3 separate regions of the Homo sapiens genome follow, and all the other regions are linked to region 1. The links are contacts of gene promoters, found by promoter capture Hi-C in blood cells and fetal thymus (Javierre and others, 2016). All regions are on one chromosome and are shown on one strand. The core of a region is centred on a gene start or on the middle of the fragment in contact, and the rest is flanking DNA. Distances in the headings are between cores, read along the strand shown. Region 1 holds the start of MYH11 (myosin heavy chain 11). Region 2 overlaps ABCC1 (ATP binding cassette subfamily C member 1 (ABCC1 blood group)). Region 3 overlaps MYH11 (myosin heavy chain 11).

Region 1 (3,270 bases), core at 547-3,046:
TCTCGGCATGGCAGCCCACCTAGGGTCACTGGTTTCAGCTAGGTCACCCCCTCAATCAGGGGACAAACAGTGCCTTTTATTTTAAATGTGCAAAAAGTCAGTTTATGTTTTCTTCAAAGGACACGGTGATAAACATTTACTTTGTTGGAAGCATTTAGTCCCACCAGAAACCTGACCCCAACAAGTTTGTGTCCATGGTAAAGAAGAAAGATAGTGGGGTCAAGGGTATGAACTTGGACTCAAACTGACCCGGGAATGGGTTCTACCACTTGCTGGCTGTGTGACACTTTACCTCTCTGAGCCTCAGCTGCCTTGTATACTAAACAGGCATCATAAAGCCTTTCTTATGAAGTTGTTGCAAAGATTAAATGAGATAAATTAAGTTAAATGTTGCAACAGCATGTGGCACTGAAGTGTTCCATCAACGGTAGCTATCTCAAAGGGAAAACATCAATTTCCTTCAAACAAAATTCTCTATCTTATTTCACACCCTGCCACCTAATGACTTTCAGTTCAGCGTCAAGTTCCGTCTCTGAACAATTCTAAAATAGTATCGTTGAGTAAATCAAAGAAACAAAAAACTATGCAAAGCAGTTTATTAATAGCCTGCATTCTTTTTGCCAAACCCCGGACGGACAGTTCACCATTTAATCTCTCAGTTCTTCATACTGCAACTAAACACTCCCACCTTGGGTTTCTAAATATTTTCTTTTACTTCTTGACAAGCATGGCTTTGGATGGTACCTTTTCTCAAGTGGCAAAATCCCTACCAGACCCTGTGCTGGAAGAAAACTTACAACAGGCAGTAGCCACACTTTCTCTCGTTTTACCCATTTGGTTGGGCACGAGAGTGGCATTGACACAGGTGGCTCTGCGGGAAATTCTAGTGTAATCTTACCTAACGCACCTGCAGATCGTGGAAGCAAATGGAGACTTTGGAGCCCACCTGGGTATCTGGGGGCCCTTTGGGGTCAACCTGGGTGAGTTGTTTTTTTTTTTTTTAATTTGGAGAAGAGGAAAAAGTGGGCTGTAACAAACTAGATCACAACCAGCCTTATCTCCCAGGGGTTCTCAACATAGAAGAACCTCCCCTAAACTGATTAAAAAAAAAAAACAACAACACTCCTTTCTGCTAAGCCTATGCCCATGTGTTTTTAACTGATTTAATGCATTATCAACACAACTGTGCAATACGGTCAAATCCACAAGGAGCCTCACTTTGCCCTTCTGTGTGATAGCAAGTGACTTTTCAGTGAAGTTCAGCTGTAAATTTTTTGGTGCCTAGAATAAAAGTGAGATGCCTTGATTGTCTGCACCGGACCTCTGAGATTTCCAAGGGAGCATATCTCCTGGATTAGCCTCTTAACAAGAATCACTCGGGACTAATTTTTTTTTTTTTAAGGCAGTTTTTCTGGGGATTCTAGAGTTGGGAAATGGAGTTGGGTCCAGGCATTGATATCGTTAATAAGCACCCCCAAAATGGTACTTCTCACTGGCAATCTTAAGAAATGCTGTTTGGGGAAAGTCTAGGATAATCTAAGACGATAAGGCAGAGAGAGATCCAAATCACAACTCTGCCCCCACCATGGCCCTTACGAGGTTGACAACAGGGACCCCTAAGTGCACCCCAGCCCCTATAGAATACCCTATAGGACTTTTAACACCCCCCTGCCCTGCAATCTGCCCCCAGAATGACAACTACTACTTACAGATCTCCAACTGGGGGGACTAGTGGAGAGGAAACTGGATGGCGAGCTCGGATCTGACGCACCTCCCAGGCCGGAGCGTCCAAATCTCCCTGCGCGTCCTCGGACGCCTCTCTTTATAGACCCGGAGCTGCCCGCGGCTGGGAAAGGGGAGGAGGCCGAAGGGGTGGAGTTGGGGAGGGTCCCTCGCGGCCCCCTCGCCGCGCCCCCTGCAGGGCGCACCCCCGGCGGGAGCGCAAGGAGCTGGGGCGCTCGGGACAAGGGTGCACGGAACAGGTGCGCACCGCACAAGGGCGCACGGAACAGGTGCGCACAGGGACGGGAGTCTCAGCCCCGGCCCCAGGCGGTCGCAGACGCTCCGGATCCCTAGAGAAAGGGGGTCGAGCAGGCAGTGTCTGTGCGGGATGCTTGAGAACGTCTTCCCTGAGTCGGTTCCGGCCGCAAAGGCTTTAACCTCTTCCTCCCCGTGTCGGGGCTGTGGTGGATCTGACTTGACATCTCCCACCCCACTTCCCATTTTATTGGCATCGCACTGTCTGGAAAGAGGGCCGGCTGTGCAGCGTGAAGGGTAGGGAAAGGGGATTTCTTGAACTTTGCAAAGTGCAAGACAGGAGGCCCCCACCCTTGCTGGGAACCGTGCAGGAAGGGGAAGTTTTTACTTTTCCCAACTTGCCATCTCCACCTCCACCCACATCACCACGACCAAAATACAAATAAAAATTAAAAATAAGCCCACTGTGATTATTTCAGCTGTCCCCCTCCCCTGTGCGCCACTCGCCAGCTGCGTGACCTTGGGCAAGTCACTTCACTTCTCTGAGACTTGGTGTCCATAGCTACAAAATGGGGGAAGGCGGTGGCGGTGATAATTACGTTATTTACAAGATGCAAGTGTCAAGATCCAAGGAGAAAGTGGGTGTGCCCCCAGAGTCTGCGAGTTCCCTTCAACAACTTCCCTTCCCCAAGGATTCCTCGCCTAAAATTGCATTCCCTGTCTCTCTCCATCACAGGCTCTCTCGCTCTGTCTCTGCCACTGTCTCTGCATGTCTGTCACTCTGATCATTGCTGTCTCTCGCTCTATCTTTTGTCTCTGTCCCTCTCGCTTCTCTAGATCTGTCGATGTATCTGTCTCTCCCTCCTGTCTCACTTTGTCTCTGGTCTCTGTGTCTCTTGCTCTCCATCTCTCCCGCGTGTCTCACTCCTATCTCTGCGCTTTCTCTCTCTCTCTTCCCCAGGCTCTCCGTCTTCTCCCCGTCCCTCCCTCCCCGCTCCTGTCCACGCACGCACACACAGGCCATAAAAGGAAGTCGAGGCGGTGGGCTGGCCCCGCGCCAGGCCGGGGACCCGCGGGCAGCCCGGGCGCTCCGCTCCCCGCGCGGCACCAGCTCCTCCGAGGTTCCCGGGCCGGGCCGGGCCGGGCCGGTCCCCCTCCCCGGGAGCGGCGGGAGCGGCGGGCGGGAGACAACCCAAAAAGGGCAGGCGCGGACTCCTTCCTGCAGGAATTCCCAGCGCCGCATACCAGCTCTGGGCTGCCGGCTCCCCCTGACTAAATATGGTGCCGAGTGGC
Region 2 (3,270 bases), core at 247-2,746, 100 kb after region 1:
TTTTGTCCACCCCTCTTTTCCCAGGACTCAGTGTCTCACACACAGTGGGGGCTCAATCAACATTAGAATTTGAGTGTTTGAGGTATGAGTTCCAAGCTAGGGGTTAGATATAGCTCACCACTGTGCTGGTTTGGCTTGATTTTAATTATAGGAATGACTGTGATTTCCAATTTTATTTATTTATTTATTTGAGACGGAGTCTTGCTCTGTTGCCAGGCTGGAGTGCAGTGGCACGATCTTGGCTCACTGCAACCTCTGCCTCCTGGGTTCAAGCAATTCTGCCTCAGCCTCCCCAGTAGCTGGGACTACAGGGGCACGCCACCACATCCAGCTAATTTTTGTGTTTTTGATAGAAACGGGGTTTCCAGTATGTTGGCCAGCATGGCCTCGATCTCTTGACCTCGTGATCCGCCCGCCTCGGCCTCCTAAAGTGCTGGGATTACAGGCATGAGCCACTGTGGCCCGCCCTACAATGTTTATTCATTGGCAGATTTCACAGAAACATCTGGATTTCTGGCTTCCCTTGAAAAATCAGAAGTTCTGCTAGCCCCAGGCCCACATTTATACATGGTAGCGGTCCGCTGAGGCTGTCCGTTTCTGAGTTGCTCCAGTTTGCCGCAGTCCCCACCCCTCCCTGTTGTTGCTTTAATTTTAAGGCCAAATGTTTGTTGCCTTTGTTTTATTTTATATTATTTTTTTGAGACGAAGTCTCGCTCTGTCACCCAGGCTGGAGTGCAGTAGTGGAATCTCGGCTCACTGCAACCTCTGCCTCCCGGGTTCCAGTGATTCTGCTGCCTCAGCTTCCCGAGTAGCTGGGATTACAGGCCCGCACCACCACACTCGGCTTATTTTTGTATTTTTAGTAGAGATGGGGTTTCTCCATATTGGCCAGGCTGGTCTTGAATTCCTGAACTCAAGTGGATCACTTGAGTTCCTCAGCCTCCCAAAGTGCTGGGATTACAGGCATGAGCCACCGTGCCTGGCCTGTTGCCTTTTTAAAATTGTGCTTCCTCACACCTGGTCTGCTTCTTGCATGGATGGAACCCACTTTGGCACCTGTTGGTATCTGAGTTGGCATCTCCTGCTTTGCAGGCCAACCTTGAAGTTAGCATCTGATTGGTATGTTGGCTTCAGATTTTCATGGCGAAGTAAGGCCTAGCTTTGATGATCAGCTCTTAGTGTGGTCAGTACAACTCTAGCTCGTGAAAACTTGCCCAAACATTTTGCCAAAATTAATTAATGGCCAGACATCCTGAGGCAAGCTTCCCCCCGCTTAGCAAGAAAACTGGGATAGGGCAGCATCCCTGTGGGTGGAGTGGTGCTGGGGACCTGCACTTACCTCTTAGAGGCTGAATGGTTGAACGGGGCCTTTGAGGAAGCTGTATTTTGCGGGTGGGGACATGGAGCACAGTTGCTCAGTGTCGGCCCCGTTGACATGTAGGCCACATCATTCTTTGTGGCCTGGTTGCTGTTCTGTGCAGCGTAGTCTTAGCCCCAAACCTGGCCTCTACCCCCTAGTAGATGCTGGTAGCACCTCCTCTTGTTGTGACAACCGAAAATGCCTCTAGATGTTTCCATATGTTCCCTGGGGTGTGAAATCACACAGCCACTGGTGTGGAGGAATATGGGGGAGAAACATGGAGCAAGACCTTCCTCCTCATCCTGCATTTCCCTAGGAGGTTGTGGGCTGTCGAAATTCTAGTGTAATTGGCTTACTGGGGTTGCCTTGGAGAAGCTTAATGAGACGTTAAGGAGGTTAAACTCCAATTAGCTAGAGAAGAAACTTGCGGCAGTTTCTTTTTTACTGAGGGCTGTGTCTTTTTACCTTTTTCCATTTTCCCAGTTGGAGTTGTGACAGTTCATTCTCCCCTGGGAAAACAAAAATGGCTTTCTTTTTCTTTTTCTTTCTTTTTTCTTTTGAGACAGGGTCTCCCTCTGTCACCCAGGCTGGAGTGCAGTGGCACAATCATAGCTCACTGCAGCCTCGACCTCCTGGGCTGAAGCTATCTTCCCACCTTAGCCTCCCAGGTAGCTGGGACCAGAGGTGCACACCACCATACCCGGCTAATTTTTGTATTTTTTGTAGAGTCAGGGTCTCACCATGTTGCCCAGGCTTGTCTCAAACTCCTGGGCTCAAGCGATCCTCCTGCCTCGGCCTCCCAAAGTGCTGGGATTACAGGCGTGAGCCACCATGCCCAGCCGAAAATGGCTTTCTTGAGAGATCAGCTTTGAAGCTCTACTCCTTCATTTTAAAGTGCCCCAGGAGAAGTGGACGATTACAAAGTTGAGATTCCACTTAAGTGTCCCCTTAGTTTAACTGTGGGATTCATCTCCTGGGGAGGTTGCCAGGTTCTGGAAAGTGGGTGTTAATGACCAGGGAGGGTGCCCCTAGGCTAGCATCCTGTAACCCTCAGGAATTGAGATTTTTATGGAGGTTTTCTCTTCCTCTCTGTGAGTTTTCTCTCTGAGAAACCTGTCTAGGGAGGGAGGCTCTAGGCTAGCATCCTGTAACCCTCAAGTAGTAATTGAGATTTTTATGGAGCTTTTATCTTCCTCTCTGTGAGTTTTCTCTCTGAGGAACCTCAGTGTACCTTTTACTGGCCTCCTAGGTAATACTTGTTTGGAGAATATGTGTGATGTCTAAGTCTTCCCAGTACAAGAAATTTGTGTGGTGTTTGACTGATTGATGGATGGAGTCTTGTTCTGTCGCCCTAGCTGATTGTACCACTGCACTGCAGTCTCGACCTCCCAGGCCAAGTGACCCTCCCAACTCACCCTCCCAAGTAGCTGGGACTACAGGCATGCACCAGCACACCCGGCTAATTTTTGTATTTTTTTTTGTAGAGATGGGGTTTCACTATGTTGCCCAGTTTGGTCTTGAACTCTTGAGCTCAAGCAGTCTCCCAGAGTGCTGGGATTACAGGTGTGAGCCACCACGCCCAGCCTCGTGTGGTCTTTGATACCCCTGGGTTCATTGTATTGTTCTTCCCACACTGCTTTTCATTCATTCATTTATTCAGTCATTATTAATTGAGCAGCTACTATGTGCTGCTGCTGCTCTAGGCACTGAGGATACAACAGTGAACAGGACAGACCAGGCCCATGTTCTCATGGGGTTTACACTGAGGGTGACGGAAATGATTTCAGATGCTGGCAAGTGCTGCAAAGACTTGAACCGGGAAAAACTGGGTGAGGTGCAAACTACTACGGAGGGATGTCCACAGAAGGCCTTTCGGAGGCGGTGAGGTTTGACCCCAGAGCTCAGTGGCA
Region 3 (3,270 bases), core at 377-2,876, 74 kb before region 1:
TTTATTTATTTTTGTAGAGATGGGGTTTCCCCATGTTGCCCAGGCTGGTCTCAAACTCTTGAGCTCAAGTGATCTGCCCGCCTCAGTCTCCCAAAGTACTGGGACTACGGGCATGAGCCACCTCGCCTGGCCTGAAATGCACACTTTCATTATGAATTGTCTTATGTTATTTCTTCTTCATATTCCAGTTAGGGCATTATGCTGATGTGTATTCATCTAATACGTGTAGGAGGTGATACTATCTATGATTCTAATTTCGGGCGAGGAAAGGAGACATTATGTAATTGTTTGTTACTAAAATGGGCCTTGGGGATCACAGGGTCAGGGACCACCATGTGCATTTGCTCAGCAGAGCAGAGCTTTCTGCAAAGAGTCTTTCACAGGGCCCCATCTCAGCGAGCAACAGTTCAGAGACCCCCTTCTCCTGGAATGCAGAGGCAATTTTTCCTTCATCTTTTCTCACTAAAATATCTTTCTGACCCTCCTACGGAGACAACCGCTTCTTTTGCACAATAAAACCATTGTTGTCTACCTATCATCAACCATCCACTTTCAGAGTTCCCCTGCCCTGTTGGGCTCAGGCAAAAACTTTTTGCTTTGGAGCCTGGGGGAGTGTGCATGGGAAGGTAGTACCCCCTGCCTCACTTACTCTCTGTTATTCAGTTGGAAGAACCAGCTTCATGAAGGCTGGAACCATATCTGAACTATTCATCGCAATCCTGTGAGACTCGCTGAGTGCCTGGTATACAGTAGGCACTTAATAAAAACAGCAAATGAGAAAAAAACAAAGAGAATGGTGGTACATGTAAAAGTGCCTACCAGAGTAATTGTACACAGTAGGTACTTACTAAGTATTTCTTGGAGGAGGTGTGTGCCTGGTACACAGTTGGCACTCAATTCATGTTTTGTTACATAAAATGGTATCGGATATAAGGGTCTAGCCCATACCAGGTGCTCAATACCTAATTTTTTAAATTTTATTTTAATAATAGAGATGGGATCTCGCTTTGTTGCCCAGGCTGGTCTAGAACCCCTGGGCTCAAGTGATCCTCCCACCTCAGCCTCCCAAAGTGCTGGGATTACAGGTGTGAGCCACCGCACCAGGCCAATCAATATTTGTTGAGTGAATAGTGAATAAATTAATGAATGAATGAGAGAGTGAGAGGCAGGAGCCCTTGCAAGATTGTGAGATACAGCCCATCTCTCCAGGGTCAGATGCCCCTCCCACCTCTGCACGCAAACACTCTGCAGCCCCAGGCAGGAGATGACACCAAAGCTTTTCTGGAAAATCCATGTGGCTTTGCTACTTACGAATCGTGAGGAGTTGTCGTTCTTCACTGTTTTGGCGTTGCCGAAAGCCTCCAGAATCGGGTTTGCTTGTAGAAGCTGCTTTTCCAGCTCTCCCTAAAATTCATTCACATCTAGTTATTGGAGAAAGCAACCTAGGTCCTGACAGTTCTACCTTGGATGGATGTTGTCACAAAACTCTGCCCTTAACCCACAGGTTCTCTCCTATCTCCTACCTCCTCTTAGACCCTGATGCTAATGTTCAGATTTACAGGAGGATTTCAGAAGAGAAGCAACTGTCTGAGCTCTCTAATAGCTAGGACATCTGCTCCCTAGGAAGGTCACTTTTTTCAAGACCAGGGCCTGCTCATCTGTGCAACATCACTGCCACTCAAAGCCACTGCCTTGCACAATGTCGGTGATGTCATTTACATCATGATGAATGGTGCCCCCCGGAGTTGTGCAGTGCACCACCTGTCCCACTGTACATGGCAGTCGTGCTGCTGTTCATGTTTAACAAGCAGCCTTCTTCAAGTTAAACCACTACAAGCCTCCTTCTAATTATTTTAGTGCAATTTTTTTTAAGTTGCAATTTTTTCTTTCTCAGGACTGGTTTTCTGAAGTCTTCTACAGCAGACAAGTAAGGAATGCACAAAACCCACCAGGAATCCTCTTAGCGGACTGCGGAATAAAGCTTCAAAGCAGGTTGCCTGAGCTCCATTCATTGGGTTAAAGGAAGCTGAGACTGTACACAGCCCACCGGCCCCCTCTGCCGGGATGCCTTTGCACAAACGCGGTCACGTGATTAATCATGGCAGGAAAGGGCCAATGTGGTAAGTTAAGCTGGGAAAGCAAACGAGCTGCTCTTGGCCTAGCCCTAAAACATGGCGGCTGCAGTTGGGCCCCGAGGCCTCCAGGCCCTGGATTCTGGGAGTTTTTCTCCTTGTCCTCCCCTCCTGCTTTCCCTTCCTTATTTTTCCAGGCATCAGGGCTGGGCTGGACAGGAGCCGGGAAAGTGTCTAGAGGGGACAAGGATGGGCATGGCTTCCTCCTCATTCCTCCGCATGCTAGGAAGGCATCAGGGTACCTGGTCTACAGGACAAAGCAGGAAGCTGCTATTTGTTTCTGTTTTGATTTGTCCACACATCCTCCTTTTTGTAGCTCCCAGAGAAAGATGAAGCAAAAGCCTCATCCGCATACAAATCTCAGCTACAAGTGGAATCACCACAGCTGAGACTGGTGGAAATTTACAAGGAGCACCACGGGCATTTCTTTGTTGGTGGGAAGACGACTAAAGGAATCACTTTTGTTCACATAAACTTGGGGTCTCCATGCTCTCTGAAAAAGGCTCCCTTTCTAGAATGGGGATTCTGGCAGGTAAGGTTGAAAAGTCTTGGCAAGAGAGCTTTAAATCGGGGGACCTGGTTCAAACCCTCAATTTTATAGATGATGAAACCATAGCCCCGAGGAGTTAACTGACTCGGCCAAGGTCACACAAAAGCAGATCCCAAATAAGAACTGTAATTCTCCTTCTGATCTGCAACACAGTCACCCAGGGTCTAACTAAGATGGATTGAATGATCTTTTCGGGAGCCAAGGAAGACACCTGTGGGTTTCTTCTAGGCTGGGACCCACACATCAGCCCCCCAAGCTCTGTGTTAGAGATGAGTTTACATATGCACAGGTCCAAGCAGGACCAGGTTATGCGTTGCGTAGCTGGGGCCTTACCGCGCCACCAAAGCTAGTGCATCGCGACCTCCAAGACTGTTTCTGGAGGCTTGAGTCAAGCAACCAGCATGCAAGAGACAGACACGCACTGCACACGCATGCACAGGGACACACTGGTGCACCAGGGACAGGGCTGAGGGAAGACACTTAGGGATGATGGCAGGGAGAGAAGAGGGAGGCATGCCACAGCTGTGCCATCGACTGTCCATCGAGCCAGGGAAGCTTTGGGGCCTGACAGTCCTAAAACACTCAGCC

What was found. Contacts are between HindIII fragments. The CHiCAGO score rates a contact against its expected background, and 5 or more counts as called.
Region 2: a contact is called between a fragment that was not itself captured here and the fragment with the promoter of MYH11 in region 1, in 2 of 17 cell types (megakaryocytes and endothelial precursors). The highest score is 5.5, in megakaryocytes.
Region 3: a contact is called between a fragment that was not itself captured here and the fragment with the promoter of MYH11 in region 1, in 4 of 17 cell types (megakaryocytes, endothelial precursors, erythroblasts and 1 more). The highest score is 10.2, in megakaryocytes.

What each region holds. Positions count from the first base shown.
Region 1 is chr16:15,855,232-15,858,501 of GRCh38, forward strand. It overlaps MYH11 (myosin heavy chain 11), which reads right to left and starts at 1,797. Exons shown (of 41, transcript NM_002474.3): 1 at 1,710-1,797. RefSeq lists an enhancer at 2,843-3,270. The HindIII fragment of the contact is 5,018 bases long and covers 1-3,270 here.
Region 2 is chr16:15,957,425-15,960,694 of GRCh38, forward strand. All of the region lies in intron 1 of ABCC1 (ATP binding cassette subfamily C member 1 (ABCC1 blood group)), which reads left to right. Among named protein-coding and RNA genes, the nearest start is that of ABCC1, 9.4 kb to the left of the region's middle. RefSeq lists enhancers at 761-1,261, 1,262-1,762. The HindIII fragment of the contact is 473 bases long and covers 1,261-1,733 here.
Region 3 is chr16:15,781,074-15,784,343 of GRCh38, forward strand. It overlaps MYH11 (myosin heavy chain 11), which reads right to left. Exons shown (of 41, transcript NM_002474.3): 6 at 1,312-1,404. Among named protein-coding and RNA genes, the nearest start is that of MYH11, 74 kb to the right of the region's middle. The HindIII fragment of the contact is 705 bases long and covers 1,275-1,979 here.